4 separate regions of the Homo sapiens genome follow, and all the other regions are linked to region 1. The links are contacts of gene promoters, found by promoter capture Hi-C in blood cells and fetal thymus (Javierre and others, 2016). All regions are on one chromosome and are shown on one strand. Each heading gives the region's core, a stretch centred on a gene start or on the middle of the fragment in contact. The rest is flanking DNA. Distances are from core to core; before and after follow the strand shown. Region 1 holds the start of KHDC1 (KH domain containing 1). Region 2 has its middle 12 kb from the start of KCNQ5. Region 3 overlaps KCNQ5 (potassium voltage-gated channel subfamily Q member 5). Region 4 has its middle 69 kb from the start of KCNQ5.

The links. The method cuts DNA at HindIII sites, captures the fragments that hold promoters and counts their contacts. A CHiCAGO score of 5 or more calls a contact.
Region 2: a contact is called between a fragment that was not itself captured here and the fragment with the promoter of KHDC1 in region 1, in 1 of 17 cell types (total CD8 T cells). The highest score is 5.2, in total CD8 T cells.
Region 3: a fragment that was not itself captured here is called in contact with the fragment with the promoter of KHDC1 in region 1 in 2 of 17 cell types (naive CD8 T cells and fetal thymus); the score reaches 6.2 in naive CD8 T cells.
Region 4: a contact is called between a fragment that was not itself captured here and the fragment with the promoter of KHDC1 in region 1, in 2 of 17 cell types (erythroblasts and naive CD4 T cells). The highest score is 7.4, in erythroblasts.

Annotation. Positions count from the first base shown.
Region 1 is chr6:73,261,015-73,264,605 of GRCh38, reverse strand. It overlaps KHDC1 (KH domain containing 1), which reads left to right and starts at 1,410. Exons shown (of 4, transcript NM_030568.5): 1 at 1,410-1,832. All of the region lies in intron 2 of LOC122539213 (KHDC1-KHDC1L), which reads left to right. It also overlaps the pseudogene KHDC1-AS1. RefSeq lists a silencer at 1,297-1,566. The HindIII fragment of the contact is 4,328 bases long and covers 221-3,591 here.
Region 2 is chr6:72,608,200-72,611,471 of GRCh38, reverse strand. No RefSeq gene overlaps it. Among named protein-coding and RNA genes, the nearest start is that of KCNQ5, 12 kb to the left of the region's middle. The HindIII fragment of the contact is 2,027 bases long and covers 370-2,396 here.
Region 3 is chr6:72,630,618-72,634,385 of GRCh38, reverse strand. All of the region lies in intron 1 of KCNQ5 (potassium voltage-gated channel subfamily Q member 5), which reads right to left. The region is part of intron 1 of KCNQ5-IT1 (KCNQ5 intronic transcript 1); the gene reads right to left. Among named protein-coding and RNA genes, the nearest start is that of KCNQ5-IT1, 2.0 kb to the right of the region's middle. The HindIII fragment of the contact is 9,254 bases long and covers 1-3,768 here.
Region 4 is chr6:72,551,397-72,554,976 of GRCh38, reverse strand. No RefSeq gene overlaps it. Among named protein-coding and RNA genes, the nearest start is that of KCNQ5, 69 kb to the left of the region's middle. The HindIII fragment of the contact is 195 bases long and covers 1,659-1,853 here.

The DNA of each region.
Region 1 (3,591 bases), core at 161-2,660:
TGTCCATCAGTTGCTGGTTGCGCACTGGCACTGCACATACCTGCTCCACAGAATCTTAAACCTTCAGGACTCTACCTGCTCACAGGTCCTGGGTTCCTACAGGCGTTCTTCATCAAGGGTGGGGCCACAGCTTTGCCCCAAGAGGGCAACCTGCCTCCTTGTTCCTGTACTGGCTTGAGACTCCTAGGCTGTGTCTGAACTAGCTGATAGGCCAGAAGCTTTAGGATGAAAAGAATACTGGAGGAGTCCTCAAAGTTAGAACTTTTATTGGTGTCTGTGTCCCCTCACTCATCTTAGCTATCTTGACCCTTCCCTACTTACCTTAATGATTTCGTGATTTCAATGAAAAAGACGCAACCTAGATAAGATTGCAAGGTCCCATACCTTCCTGGGGGCAGAGTTGACCTCAGACAGGGTCTTGCTTTGTTGCCCAGGCTGGAATGCAGTGGCGTGATCTCAGCTCACAGCAGCCTCAAACTCTCGGGCTCAAGCAATCCTCCCACCTCAGCTTCCCATATAGCTTGGGCTACAGGCGTGCACCACCATGCCCAGCTGATTTTTAAATTTTTTGTAGAGACAAGTTCTCCCTCTGTTGCCCCAGCTGGTTTCGAACTCCTGGGCTCAAGCGATCCTTGCTCTTTGGCCTCCCAAAGTGTTGGGATTACAGGTGTGAGCCACTGTGCCCAGCCCGACCTTTTGTTAATACTCCCATCTAATTGTCCAAACGGACTTGAACAAAAGAATCTTCTTCCCAATACTGCCAGGGAGGGCAAAATTCTTCAAATTCATGTTTGAGGCCATAAACGAACAGGAGTAAAATGGAATCCGCAGGAAGCAATGACAAGAAACCCAAAAACATTCATTTCCCTCCAGCCCAAGTGGCAGATGGGATCTCAAATACACCACGGTGTGATGCGTGACAGGAGGCATCCACTGGGGATGTGGAGCATTTTAAGTGCCCTGCAGAGGGTGGGCCTGGGTCACCCCCCCCCCCACCGCGACACCCCTCCCCAGGCAACATTCCTGGGGAGTCTGGACCTCCCTTGGTGGACCGACACCCGAGGGTCTCTAGGGTTTTTCACCCCATATCGGGGTGAACTGAAGGCATGGGAAGAGGCAGCCCCACAGCCTGGGTCCCCAAAACCCCCTCCGGGCTGAGAGCAAGAGATGCCGCCTGGAGGCCACTCACCAAGCAGCTCCGCTGGCTCAGCAATGGGGGTCGTCCGGGTCTGGGTCATTGCCACTGGCTCGTCCCTCCTCCCACCCTTGCTTCCTGGACTCAAGAGCTGCTGGGCTCTCTGCGCGCCGGCAGTGGGCTCCGCAGGCTGTCTCCTACACAGAGCAGGCGGGAGGAGGGCTCTGGGTTGCTTCCCGCGCCGCAGCCGCGCGCTTCCGGCGGGGTCGCCGCCACTTCCGCTCGAGCGCGCCTCGCGCGGCCGCGGCGCGAGCCGGGACCCCTGGAAGGGTCGGGTGCGCGGCCCAGGAGGTACCGCTGTCTCCTCACAATCGGCCAGGCCTGCAGCCGCTGCCGCCGCTGCCGCCGCCGCCGCCGCCGCCGCCGCCGCCCTACTCAGGGAGTGGCCCAGGCCTGCGGCGCGCCACCCTCACCTCCTTCATTCCTACCGTCAAAGCCCAGCCTTGGCTACCTGACCCCCCTGTGGTCTCGAACTCGGTTAGTCCGGTGAAGGGACAGAGAAGCCTGGGTTCCCGGCGGCATCACTGAGATGCTCAGTCCTGAATTCTGCCCTCCATTAGGATTATCTGCTTTGTGGGATAATTTCCTCATTGGTTGAGTCAGTGAGTTGCGTGTCTGCAAGAGAGCATCCTATCTGGTGGGTCTTCATCTAGATCTTGCACATTTCTTACTAAGTTCATCCTAAGAATATCTTACAGATAAGGAAAGTGAGCTGCAAAGAAGTGTAAAAACAGGGGAAACAGGAGATAGCAGTATAAAGAGAAAAATTAAAACAGATCGTGTGACTTTCCTCTATTGTTAATTGATTTGGGGACATTTTAAACTTATAGAAAGAAAAGAAACACGGGTTTTGTTGACACATCTCAAAACAAAATGGGTGTAACACCTTTAAAATGTAAACTATTGTGCTGGATATGTTTGTATTATTTTGAAGTCATTTAAAGTAATCGCATGAGGTGTTGCCTGCTGTTGGACCAGTAGTTTCTTTTTAGTATTCAAGCAAAGGCATAGTGAGGAAATAGTAAGAAAAAAAGAAGGAATGCTGTAACAGGAAACAAGGGAAAGGAGGAGCAGAGGAAAAGGGCAGGAAAGGTTTAACATTTACGTAGCACTTGCTATGCACCAGACACTTTTAAGCTCTTTAAATGTATTAACTCCTCTAGTTCTCACCACAGCCCTATGAAATGGGTATACTATTATCACCTCTGGTTTACAAAGAAGGCAAGTGAGGTCAAGAGAGGTTAAGCAACTGGCCCAAGGTTACACCGTAAGTGGCAAAACCTTTGCTTGAGCACATCAATTTGGCCCTAGAGTCTATGCTTTTTTTTTTTTGAGAAGGGCCTCTTTCCTGCTGCCTAGGCTGGAGGGCTGTGGCACCATCATGGCTCACTGCAGCTCCAACCTGCCGGGCTCAATGAATTCTCTCACCTCAGCCTCCTGAGTAGCTGAGACCGCAGGCACATACCACCTTGCCCAGCTAGGCTTTTTTTTTTTTTTTTGAGATGGAGTCTTGCTCTGTCACCCAGGCTGGAGTGCAGTGGTGCGATCTTGGCTCACTGCAACCTCTATCTCCCGGGTTCAAGTGATTCTCCTGCCTCAGCCTCCCGAGTAGCTGGGATTACAGGTGCCTGCCACCATGCCCAGCTAATTTTTGTATTTTTAGCAGAGACGGGGTTTCACCACCTTGGCCAGGCTGGTTTCAAACTCCTGACCTCATGATCCACCCGCCTTGGCCTCCCAAAGTGCTGGGATTACAGGCGTGAGCCACCACTCCCAGCCTATTTTTTTTTTTGGTATTTTTTTTATAGTGACAGGGTTTCACCATATTGCCCAGGCGGGTCTCAAATTCCTGGGCTCAAGGGGTCCGCCCGCCTCGACCTCCCAAAGTGTTGGGATTACAGGTGTGAGCCACTGTGCCTGGTCCTAGAGTCTATGCTTATTTTTTTAAAAAAAATTTTATTTATTTATTTATTTTTTGAGACAGAGTCTAGCTCTGTCACCAGGCAGTGGCGTGATCTTAGCTCACTGCAATCCCCGCCTTCTGGGTTCAAGCCATTCTCGTGCCTCAGCCTCTCAAGTAGCTGGGATTACAGGCATGCGCCACCATGCCCAGCTAATTTTTGTATTTTTAGTAAAGACGGGGTTTCACCATGTTGGCCAGGCTGGTCTCAAACTCCTGACCTCAGGTAATCTGCTCACCTTGGCCTCCCAAAATGCTGGGATTACAGGTGTGAGCCACCATGCCTGGCCTATGCTTCTAATCACCACACTATATTTCCTCTAAAGAGAGGGCAAGACTTGAATCAACTGGATTTGATGCTACTGAGTAGGAGTAGACAAGAGAGGTTTGCAAGGTAATTACTCTTCCATGATGTGAGATTATGGGCTAAAATGTT
Region 2 (3,272 bases), core at 134-2,633, 650 kb after region 1:
CAGGGTCTCACTCTGTTGCACAATTTGGAGTGCAGTGCTGTGATCATAGCTCACTGCAGCCTTGAACTCCTGGTCTCAAGCAATCTTCCCACCTCAGCCTCCTGAGTAGCTGGGACTACAGTGTCAAGCCACCACATCTAGCTTTTTTTTTTTCCTTCATTTTTTGTAGAATCGGCATCTCACTATGTTGCCCAGGCTTGTCTTGAACTCCTCCTCCCTTGGCCTCCCAAAATTCTGGGATTACAGGTGTGAGCCATGGCACCTGGCAGAGTTTGAATATTTTAAAGCCAAGAGCATGCATGTATGTGTAGTTTAGTGAGTGCATATATAAACACATATATATGTATTAATATAATTGCAATCTAAGCTTTAAAATATTGCCCACTAAAGCATACAAACTGCCATGAATCTACTCATGCAGTACAAGGGAAGACTATGAGTACAGCCAGAACCTCAATTCTGGAAAATATACTAAAGTCATCTCTATGCTTAAGGCTTTATCTCTGCCGCCTAACAGTACACTATCATGGGATATACTCATTTTTGTTTCAGTCATCTCTCAGGAATTGAAGTCTTGACCCATATCTTAAAATGGTGACTAGGGTCCTGTTACAGGTTTACCTACTTCCACAATGTCAATTGCCTGCCTGCCTACCTACTGAACCTCTGGATGTCATCTTGGCTCCAGCATTTCTGTGTTATACACATTGAATAACCTGCTAGTGCATAATTCTACAAAAAAGAATACACTCTTCTGCCTAGCAGACTATTTCCTGCCCACACCTGATGCTGAGGCCATTCTCCCCAGCCCTTGCCTGGACCCCTTGCCTGGGCTGTCAGTGTTCAGTTCTGCAGTGGCTAGCTGGGTCATGACTAATCATGCTTGAGTTTAGACCAAACCCCTATCTCATTCCCTTAATGAGAATTGTTTTAATTTATCCATTCCTCAATCCAACCTACAACTGCTGAGTTCCTACCACCTATGTTAAAACTGTAGAACAAACATTATCCCTACCTAATTCATGCCATAGTTTACTGTATTTTTTCGAAAGATTTAAAATATTTTTAGAGCAGACTTAAATACATAACATGGAATGATAGAAAGATTACCTAAAACTTGACAACCCCAAACCAACTAATATGTTTTATAAACATTTATTCATCTGGAGCTACTTCTTTACAACAGCGGTAATTTTGCCCCGCAGATGATATTTGCAATGTCCGGTGGTGTTTCTGGTTGGCTTAGTACATAGTATGGGGGAGGGTGTGGGAAACTGTTGCTACTGGCATCCAGGTTGTAGAGGCCGGGGATGCTGCTAAACATTCTACAACTTACAGGATAGCTCCCCACAAAAAAGGAATTATCCTGCCCAAAACGTCAATATTGCCAAAGTTGAGAAACCCTGCTTTAAACAAACTTTTTAGGTCAGCCTTTGAAGGTATTGAGGTGGGAAGTGTTGCTTGCTGCCATTTGGTGATATTTGTTGGTCTACGTACCATTTATTTCTATATTTAGAATTTTAGTTTTTATAATACACCTGGGGAAATGATGCTAGATGTTCATATGGAAAACATTTTTCCACTTAAAGTAAAATCTTTCAATGTATACAAAACCAGGGAAAGTCAACAGGTAAGTAAGCATGTCAGACTTTGCAATATTCTAGAAGGTTAAAATAATAACAGTATTTTTGTATACCTAAAAATGAACATAACTTCCTGCTTCTACTATAGGATAGAAATGAAAGAGGCAGCAAAAAATCCAGAGAACAAATAAATGGCTAATTGGTTCAGGGTTTTGAGGGCTCTTCTGAGACTTTTTTTCTTGATTGCATTGGAATATAGATGCCTCAAATGACACTATAGGTTTATTATAATTTTATCTAATTCCATATAAATTTATACAAGGGCTCTTTAGATTAAGGTGGTAATAAAATATCAATTAGCAAATTAAAATAACTAGAGTTCATAGATGCCTATTCACCACTTCATTAGAGGCATTTTATGAGAGATTCAAGCATGAACATTTGGTCTGAGTGTCATTTTAATGCAAGTGTTTCCATTGTGGTTTGCTGCATCATATTTGAGAAATGTAATAAAAATACACATTCATAACCTTAGAAGAGCTGTATCAAACTGACATTTTTTTACTTCAGTTAGTAATATACGAATGTACTATATCGTATAGTAATATACGAATGTACTATATCGTATAGTAATATACGAATGTACTATATCATATAGTAATATATGAATGTACTATAGCAGCTAACAATTTTCTTGTATAACAATGGTCTCTGGTTAGAAGGAAATCTGTTAGAATTTGAAGATAATAAAAGGCCAGAAGTGGCTTAATGAATTTTCTTATTGAATAAATTTACCTCTCTTTTGGAAAAGCTTGTTTTTAATCTGCTAAATCAAAAATAGGTTTTCCATAGGTAGTATTTATTTTTTATGTATATACATATTCATATTCAATTTGGTTGTAAGCTCATGGGTACATAAATCCTCAAAACATTGCATTTATTTCCATCTTCACTGATCTACTGGGGTCCTTAAGTTTCTTTGTTCTGGAAAAGAAAGTCATTCCTTTAAGAAAAATAACGCTACTCTTCAAGTTTGAATTATGAAAGTACTCCTATTTCCTTAATACTCCTGGAACGATGTTCTAATTTTTTGTCTTAAAAAATGATTAAACTTGTGCAAAATTGTTTTCTGTTTTGAATTATACTGACAAAATCAGAGATTTTACACGGATTAACCTAAATCCCAATAACCCTATTTAACATACAAGTAAATCTGGATGCAGTGTTTAGTCTCTCAGTTCCCCAGTTTTCTCATTTTCAAAATGAGAGACAATAATGTGTTATGGTATAATAGATGCCAGTGCCTTGCACTTATTAGTTGCTCTGTAAATGTTAAATAACACTTATGGATGGCTTCCAGCTTTGTTATGGAGAAAACAAGAAAAGTATTAGGAGAAAAAATTAAGAGTCACAACATATTGGAATGTTTATTTATTTTAAGATATCTTCTTGTAAAGGAACATAACTGGCAAATCCAACATCACTCAGACTATGAGTTATCATGTTTTTAGTAGTTCCGAAGCTAAGTTATATTAAAGTAAATATACAGAAACATACATGTACATGAATCTGAATAAACTCAGCCTCCCTCTCCCATTCTATTTTTTTTTAAACTTTTTGTTCTGATTTTCTCCATCACACAACCCTCATATATTTAACAGAGCTGTTGAATTTTAGAGTTTGAATGGA
Region 3 (3,768 bases), core at 460-2,959, 630 kb after region 1:
AATAAAGGCTATGGGAGGTGCATAATGATAAGAAAATAAGCTAGCACGTCAGAAAAATATTTAAAGAAAAATTAGAACTTAAGCTGGTTAGAATGTGAAGGCAGAGAAACAAACATGCTTAGTACAAAGTTAAAAGTAATTCCTTGATTCTAGGTAATAAGGCATTTTAACTATAATTCATTTATTCAACAAACATTTATTGTGCATACACTATTTTGCTGAGAGCTATACTAGACCCCAAAGTAGTTTTTATAATTACTCTACCCATCTGATATGAGGAGCCCTGGGCCCACACGTACCATCCACAATCAAGATTATAGCAGCCTAAGCTCTTTAGTTTAATTAGGTCCCACTTGTCAATTCTTGGTTTTGCTTCAGTTGCTTTTGGGGACTTAGTCAAAAATTCTTTGCCAAGGCTGATGTTGAGAAAACTATTTCTTAGGTTCTCTTCTAGGATTTTTCTAGTTTGAGGTCTTATATTTAAATCTTTAATCCATCTTGAGATAATTTTTGTATATGGTGAAAGGTAGGGGTCCAGTTTAATTCTTCTGCATATGGCTAGCCAGTTATCCCAGCACCATTTATTGAACTGGGGAGCCCTCTCCCCATTACTTGTTTTTGTTGGCCTTATTGAAGATCAGATCGTAAGTGTGCCACTTTATTTCTGAATTTTCTATTCTGTTCCATTGATCTATGTGTCTGTTTTTGTATGAGTACCACACTGTTTTGTTTGGTATAGCCTTATAGTTTGAAGTCAGATAGTGATGCCTCCAGCTTTGTTCTTTTTGCTTAGGATTGCTTTGGCTATTCGGGTTCTTTTTTGGTTCCATATGAATGTTAGAATAGTTTTATCTAATTCTGTGAAGAATGGCATTGTAGTTTGACAGGAATAACATTGAATCTGTAAATTGCTTTGGGCAGTGTGGCCATGTTAACAATATTGATTCTTCCAATCCATGAGCATGGAATGTTTTTCCATTTATTTGTGTCGTCTCCGATTTATAAACAGACAACTTACAAAATGGGAGAAAATATTCACAATCTATGCATCTGACAAAGCTCTAATATCCGAAGTCTATGAACTTAAACAAATCAACAAGCAAAAAACAACCCCATTAAAAAGTGGGCAAAGAACATGAACAGACACTTCTCAAAAGAAGACATACGAGTGGCCCCCAAGCATATGAAAAAATGCTCATCATCACTAATCCTCAGAGAAGTTCAAATCAAAACCACAATGAGATACCACCTCATACCATCAGAATGATTATTATTAAAAAGCCAAAAAACAACAGATGCTGGTGAGACTGCAGAGAAAAGGGACCACCTATACACTGTTAGTGGGAATGTAAATTAGTTGAGTCACTGTGGAAAGCAATTTGGAGATTTCTCAAATAAATTAAAACAGAACTACCATTTCACCCAGCAATCCCATTACTGGGTATATACCCAAAGGAAATAGATCATCATACCAAAAAGACACACACACTCATATGTTCATTGCCATGCTACTCACAATAGCAAGGACATGGAATCAACCTAGGTGCCCATCAATGGTGGTTTGGATAAAAAAAAAAAATGGTACATATACACCATAGAATTCTATGCAGCCATAAAAAAGAATGAAATCATGTCCTTTGCCGCAACATGGATGTAGCTGGAAGCGATAATCCTAAGTGAATTAATGTAAGAAAAGAAAACCAAGTACCACATATTCTCACTTAGAAGTGTGAAGATAAATACTAAGCACATAAAGATGTAAACATGGGAACAATATACACTTGGGACTACTAGAAGCGGGAGGAAGAGAAGAGCCATGGGTTGAAAAACTAACAATTGGGTACTATGCTCACTACCTGGATGCAATATACCCATGTAACAAACCTGCACAAGTACCCCCGTCTCTAAAATAAAAGTTGATTTTTTAAAAAAAGAAAAAAAAACTGGCCAGGCGCGGTGGCTCACGCCTGTAATCCCAGCACTTTGGGAGGCTGAGGCGGGCGGATCACGAGGTCAGGAGATGGAGACCATCCTGGCTAACACGGTGAAACCCCGTCTCTACTAAAAATACAAAAACAAAATTAGCCAGGGGTGGTCGCGGGCGCCTGTAGTCCCTGCTACTTGGGAGGCTGAGGCGGGAGAATGGTGTGAACCCAGGAGGCGGAGCTTGCAGTGAGCGGGGATCGCGCCACCGAACTCCAGCCTGGGCAATAGAGTGAGACTCCGTCTCAAAAAAAAAAAAAAAAAGAAAGAAAGAAAGAAAAAATCTAAAACTCTAACAGGCAAAGTAAAGGAAATAAAATATAGTGGCTAAGCATGTGTGGCTCTCAGCCAACCTGCCTTGGTTCAAAGCCCTGTTCTGCCATTAACTCAGAAGCTGACTTTGGACAGGTTACTAAACCTCCCCCTACTTTGGTATTCTGGTTTGCTGAAAGGAAGATGATAACACTAATATTACTTATTAGGGTTATTCGGAGGAATAAAAGAATTAATGTGCATAAAGAATTTAGAACAATGTCCAGCACATAATCATTAAAATGACTATTATTTGTGATAAAAAAACTTCTTCTCTATAACTTTATTCTCTCTTGATTTTCCTTTTAGCCTTGTATTTCCTTGTAGCTAGTGTCCAATCTCCCTTTTATTCTTGCCAAACTAAGTGAACATATGGCCTAAATATGCTGTTTCCTCTCCTCACTTCTGATTCATTTCTCAGCTAACAGCAATCTGCCTCTGCCCTCACTGCTTCACTGAAGGTTAACACTGATGAGTTTATAACATCACTGAAGAATTCCACATTGCCAGATCCAATGGTAATTTCTGATGGATCTTTATCTTACTAAACCACTCTCTACATTTCAGAATTGGTTACTTTTATTTTTTTTTGAAACTCTCTCAATACCCTTTGTTTCCACAACCCTGACCATCTTTTTGTCTAGTGTTTCCTTATAGCCTCCTGTCTACTCCATTTCATTCCTTGTTTCCTTTGCTTATCAATTAAATGTTGGTATTCTCCAGATTTCCATCCTTGACCTCCTACCCTTTATCTTTATTTGCCTTCCTCGTGATTATAACTCCTGTCTGTATTTTATGTCTTTTAAATCATCATCCAAGAGCTGCTGTACATTTATAGTTGGAATTCCCACAGGCACCAAAAGCTCAGCATTTCCAAAGCTAAACTCATTTTATCACCCCTGCAATTCGCCAACCTGTTGTTCCACCTCTATTGATTTCAGTTAATAGCACCACTATTTACCCAAGCACCCAATCCAATAATCTGGAAATAACAAATCTGTATCTCTTAATCTTCCACATTCAATCATTCACTAATACATTTCAACTCTATTGTCACACCTTTCCCCCATCCTTCCTACCACTGCCCCAGTCTAAGTCCTAATTATCTCTTGCTTAAGTTGGAACAACAGTTTTAAAATTTATCCTCTACCTCCAGTTTTGTCTCCCTCAAGCCATCACTGATAGAGCTAGTAGAATCACCAATCTAAAATGGAAATCCAATGACATTATTATTTGCCTAAATCCTATCTTCCTCAAAGATTGCCCATCACATATAGGATAAAATCCTAGACCTTTATCATATAAATACAGCCTTCCAGCACATTGTCTCTATTTTTCCCTCTAGTTTCAGCGAGAGCCACCATGCTAACTGTTAATATGTATATATTAAACATTATGTACACATATACTATACATATAACACCTTGAAGTAATATTTTATTTCTATTTTATAGATTAAGAAACTGGTACTGA
Region 4 (3,580 bases), core at 507-3,006, 710 kb after region 1:
GACCTAGACTTTGGGGTGAGGCAGCCTGCAGTAGAATCCCTGCACTGCCAATTCTCAGCTGCGTTCCTTAGCAAGTTACTTAACCTTTCTGGGCTTCAGTTTTTTCCATATAAAAATAGAGATATTAATAATATCTTCTTCCCAGGGTTGTTGTGAAACTACTATCAAAGCACTCACCACCATGCCTGACACTTAGGAAGTGCTCAATAAAGGTTTTTATTATGCCTCCAGCAAGATAAATTTTTCCTTTGATGATATCTAGTGACTTCATCAGAATAAAGACTTTCTTATACATTTTAGTGTGACATATGCAAAAAGAATCACACAGGAGCTGGAGATATTTTTTAAAGTTATTTTGATCACAGTGTATAAATTCTCATCTTAAGAGTAGTTCAGCTACTATTTTCATGATAATAACAAAGCAGCAGCTAAAGCTAAAGCTATCTTGGGCTATTTCCTCTAAATTTGCCTTCTAACATGGGAAGAATTTTATCTCACAAATTAGCAAATTCTAGCAAAGCCAGAATGTTGGTCATTTCTGATATCATGACTCTTGTGTATCTTTTCTGGCACATCCCAAAACCATCAGATTGATTCCGAGTTCTCAAAATACATATTGTGTTTATTCATTCATTATTCATTCATTCCTTTCATTCTTTGGTGTTCACAGTCTATTCCTATTGCCATGGGGATAACTATTCAATGACAACTACCTTTTTACTTCATTTTAGTCATTTCCGTTGTGTCAGGTTTATTCTGGCTTTGATGATGAATGGAAAGGGAAAAAGAAACTTATTAAATAAAGTGACTTTTTTTTCCGCTCAATTTGCTTTTGCATCTCTTATGTGTGTCTCAAATTTAGCAAGTGAAACATTTGTCCCAATGGATTATCTGAAATGCATCGTTGGCTGTCAGACACATGATTGATTTTAAATATATGCCTGAGTTCTTTCTATTAGACTAAACCCTTAGGACAGCAAAACACTCTTGCTGTAAAAATGCTTTCCTGTCATTGTCAGGTACACCTGTCATCTTTGACTTAACCCTTGTATTGTAAACAAGAAGCTGCTGGCAAGAGATCATAAACAAAACCAATTTCTGTGTCTCTATTTTCCAGAAGTCTCTCCAGGGAAGTTATCTCTCTAAGACATCATTCCATTTCATCCTTTCTTGGTTCTTGGCTCTTTTTATTCCTCTTTCTGCATGCCATATTCACTTTTCCTGTATGCATTTTGAATCAGTCTCTGTGCCTCTCTGGTTACTGTGGCTCAGCAATGAGTCATGGAAACTACTCAAGACTTGTCTCCTTCTATTTATCCTACCAGCCGTATCCTGTTATTTGTCTGCCTTTCAGCTGCCCTTGTGTAACGAGATGCCTTTTTACTTGCCTTCTTCAGTGTTATTCATCTCGTTTAAATTTTCCATCTCTGAGTTGCCAGCCCCCAACACCATTTTAAATTTTAAATATTTTCATTAATTTTTCAAAAAAGTTATAATTTGGCTGAATAACAGTGTCTCTTTGTATTACCAACTATGAAATAGTACAATGTGCAAAATTTAATTAGTTCCAATTAATGTTTTAAACCCAAATGAGCCTATGTTCATTCTCATCTACTTACTGTGGCAGAGGGATACAGCAGAGTATTTGTGCAAAAGCTTTATTCCATTTCTCTTCATGACCTTGCTATTTTTATAATTTTGAAGAGTCCAGTTATATCCAATATGTCGGACTGATTTTCCAATAAGTTACATGTAATGACACTGGAATGTCATCTATGTGCCAGTTCAATTGTGCCACGGGTTGGAAAACTGTGTGCCAAATCCAACCTGACAGCTGTTTCTGTAAATAAGCTTTCATTGCAACATAGCCACACCCACCTATGTATACACTATCTGTGGCTGCTTTCACATGACAAAGGAAGAGTTGAATAGTTGTGACAGAGACTACACGACCTAAAACACCTAAAATATTTGCTTTCTGGCCATTTTAGAAAATGTTTTCCTAGCAGTGGACCACCCGGTAAACCAAGTCTGGTAAATTTCCATGTCAGGTCTTGAGGTAAAGTTTATAGAATGGTTACTAACTGAATATCTCTCCCCTCCAAATATATAAAAATCATCTGTTAACTCATACAAAGACCAGATTATCTTTAGAGATAGTCCAAGGTATTTGCATATAACTAGAGTTGCCAGGTAAAATACAGAGTGCCCGGCCGGGTGTGGTGGCTTACGCCTGTAATCCTAGCACACTGAGAGGCCAAGGAGGGCAGACTGCCTGAGCTCAGAAGTTCGAGACCAGCCTGGGCAACATGGTGAAAACCTGTTTCTACTAAAAATACAAAAATTTAGGTGGGCATGGTGGTGCACACCTGTAGTCCTAGCTACTAGGGAGGCTGAAGCATGAACCTGAGAGGCGGAGGCTGCAGTGAGCCGAGATCATGCCTCTTCACTCCAGTTTGGGCAACAGAGCAAGACTCTGCCTCAAAAAGGAAAAAAAAACGCCGGGCTCGGTGGCTCACACCTGTAATCCCAGCACTTTGGGAGGCCAAGGCTGGCAGATCAGATCACCTGAGGTCGGGAGTTCGAGACCAGCCTGACCAATATGGAGAAGCCCTGCCTTTACTAAAAATAATAATAATAATAATAATAATAATAATTAGCCAGGTGTGGTGGCACATGCCTATAATCCCAGCTACTCAGGAGGCTAAGGCAGGAGAATTGCATGAACCCAGGAGGCGGAGGTTGCTGTGAGCCAAGATCATGCCATTGCACTCCAGCCTAGGCAACAAGAGCAAAACTCCATCTCAGTAAAACAAAAAACAAACAAACAAACAAAAAGCACAAAACACAGAATGCCCAGTTATGACTAAAATTCAGATAAATGACAAAGAATTTTCTAGTATAACTGTGTCCCACATATTACATGGGACATACTTATACTAAAAAATTCTTTATTTATCTGAAATTCAAATGTTATGGGCATCTTGCTCTTTTATTTGCTAAATCCAGCAACTTTGCATATAAAGGAATGAAAAGAAGAAAACCTGAAGAGAAATTGAAGCAACATCTACAGGGCACTGTGTGAAGTTTTTAGTTTATTAGCACCTTTGAGAATATTATCTGATAATATTCCAGAATTCTGCCATTGATATTCATGTTTTGAATCAATAATAGGAGACTTCAGTCTTTATACCCAGGTGTTTTGTGTACACAGGTGGTCTGCTTTCCAACGTAGGAATGCATGCTATTTACTAACGGCTTGAATTTTCCAATCGTATCTCAGGTTGCAGGGGGAAGAGGACTTTTCAGTACAAGATAAAGGGGAATTACACAGTAGAATTTTATAGGTTTGAGTTAGTCACAGGATGAGGGCAAATATAGAAAGTTTACAAAAATGAGTGATGGGGGAATTGGCAAGAGTCCACTTGTTCTGATACTGCTCTATCTGTAAGGATAGAGTTAGGAATTTAATTGTAATTAGGAAGCATTGAGTGATGCCAGATATTAACTAAGAGAAAGCAAGGTTTTTTAAACCAAAAAATAAAATACAAAACAATTCTATATTAGAGGCAAATTTTTT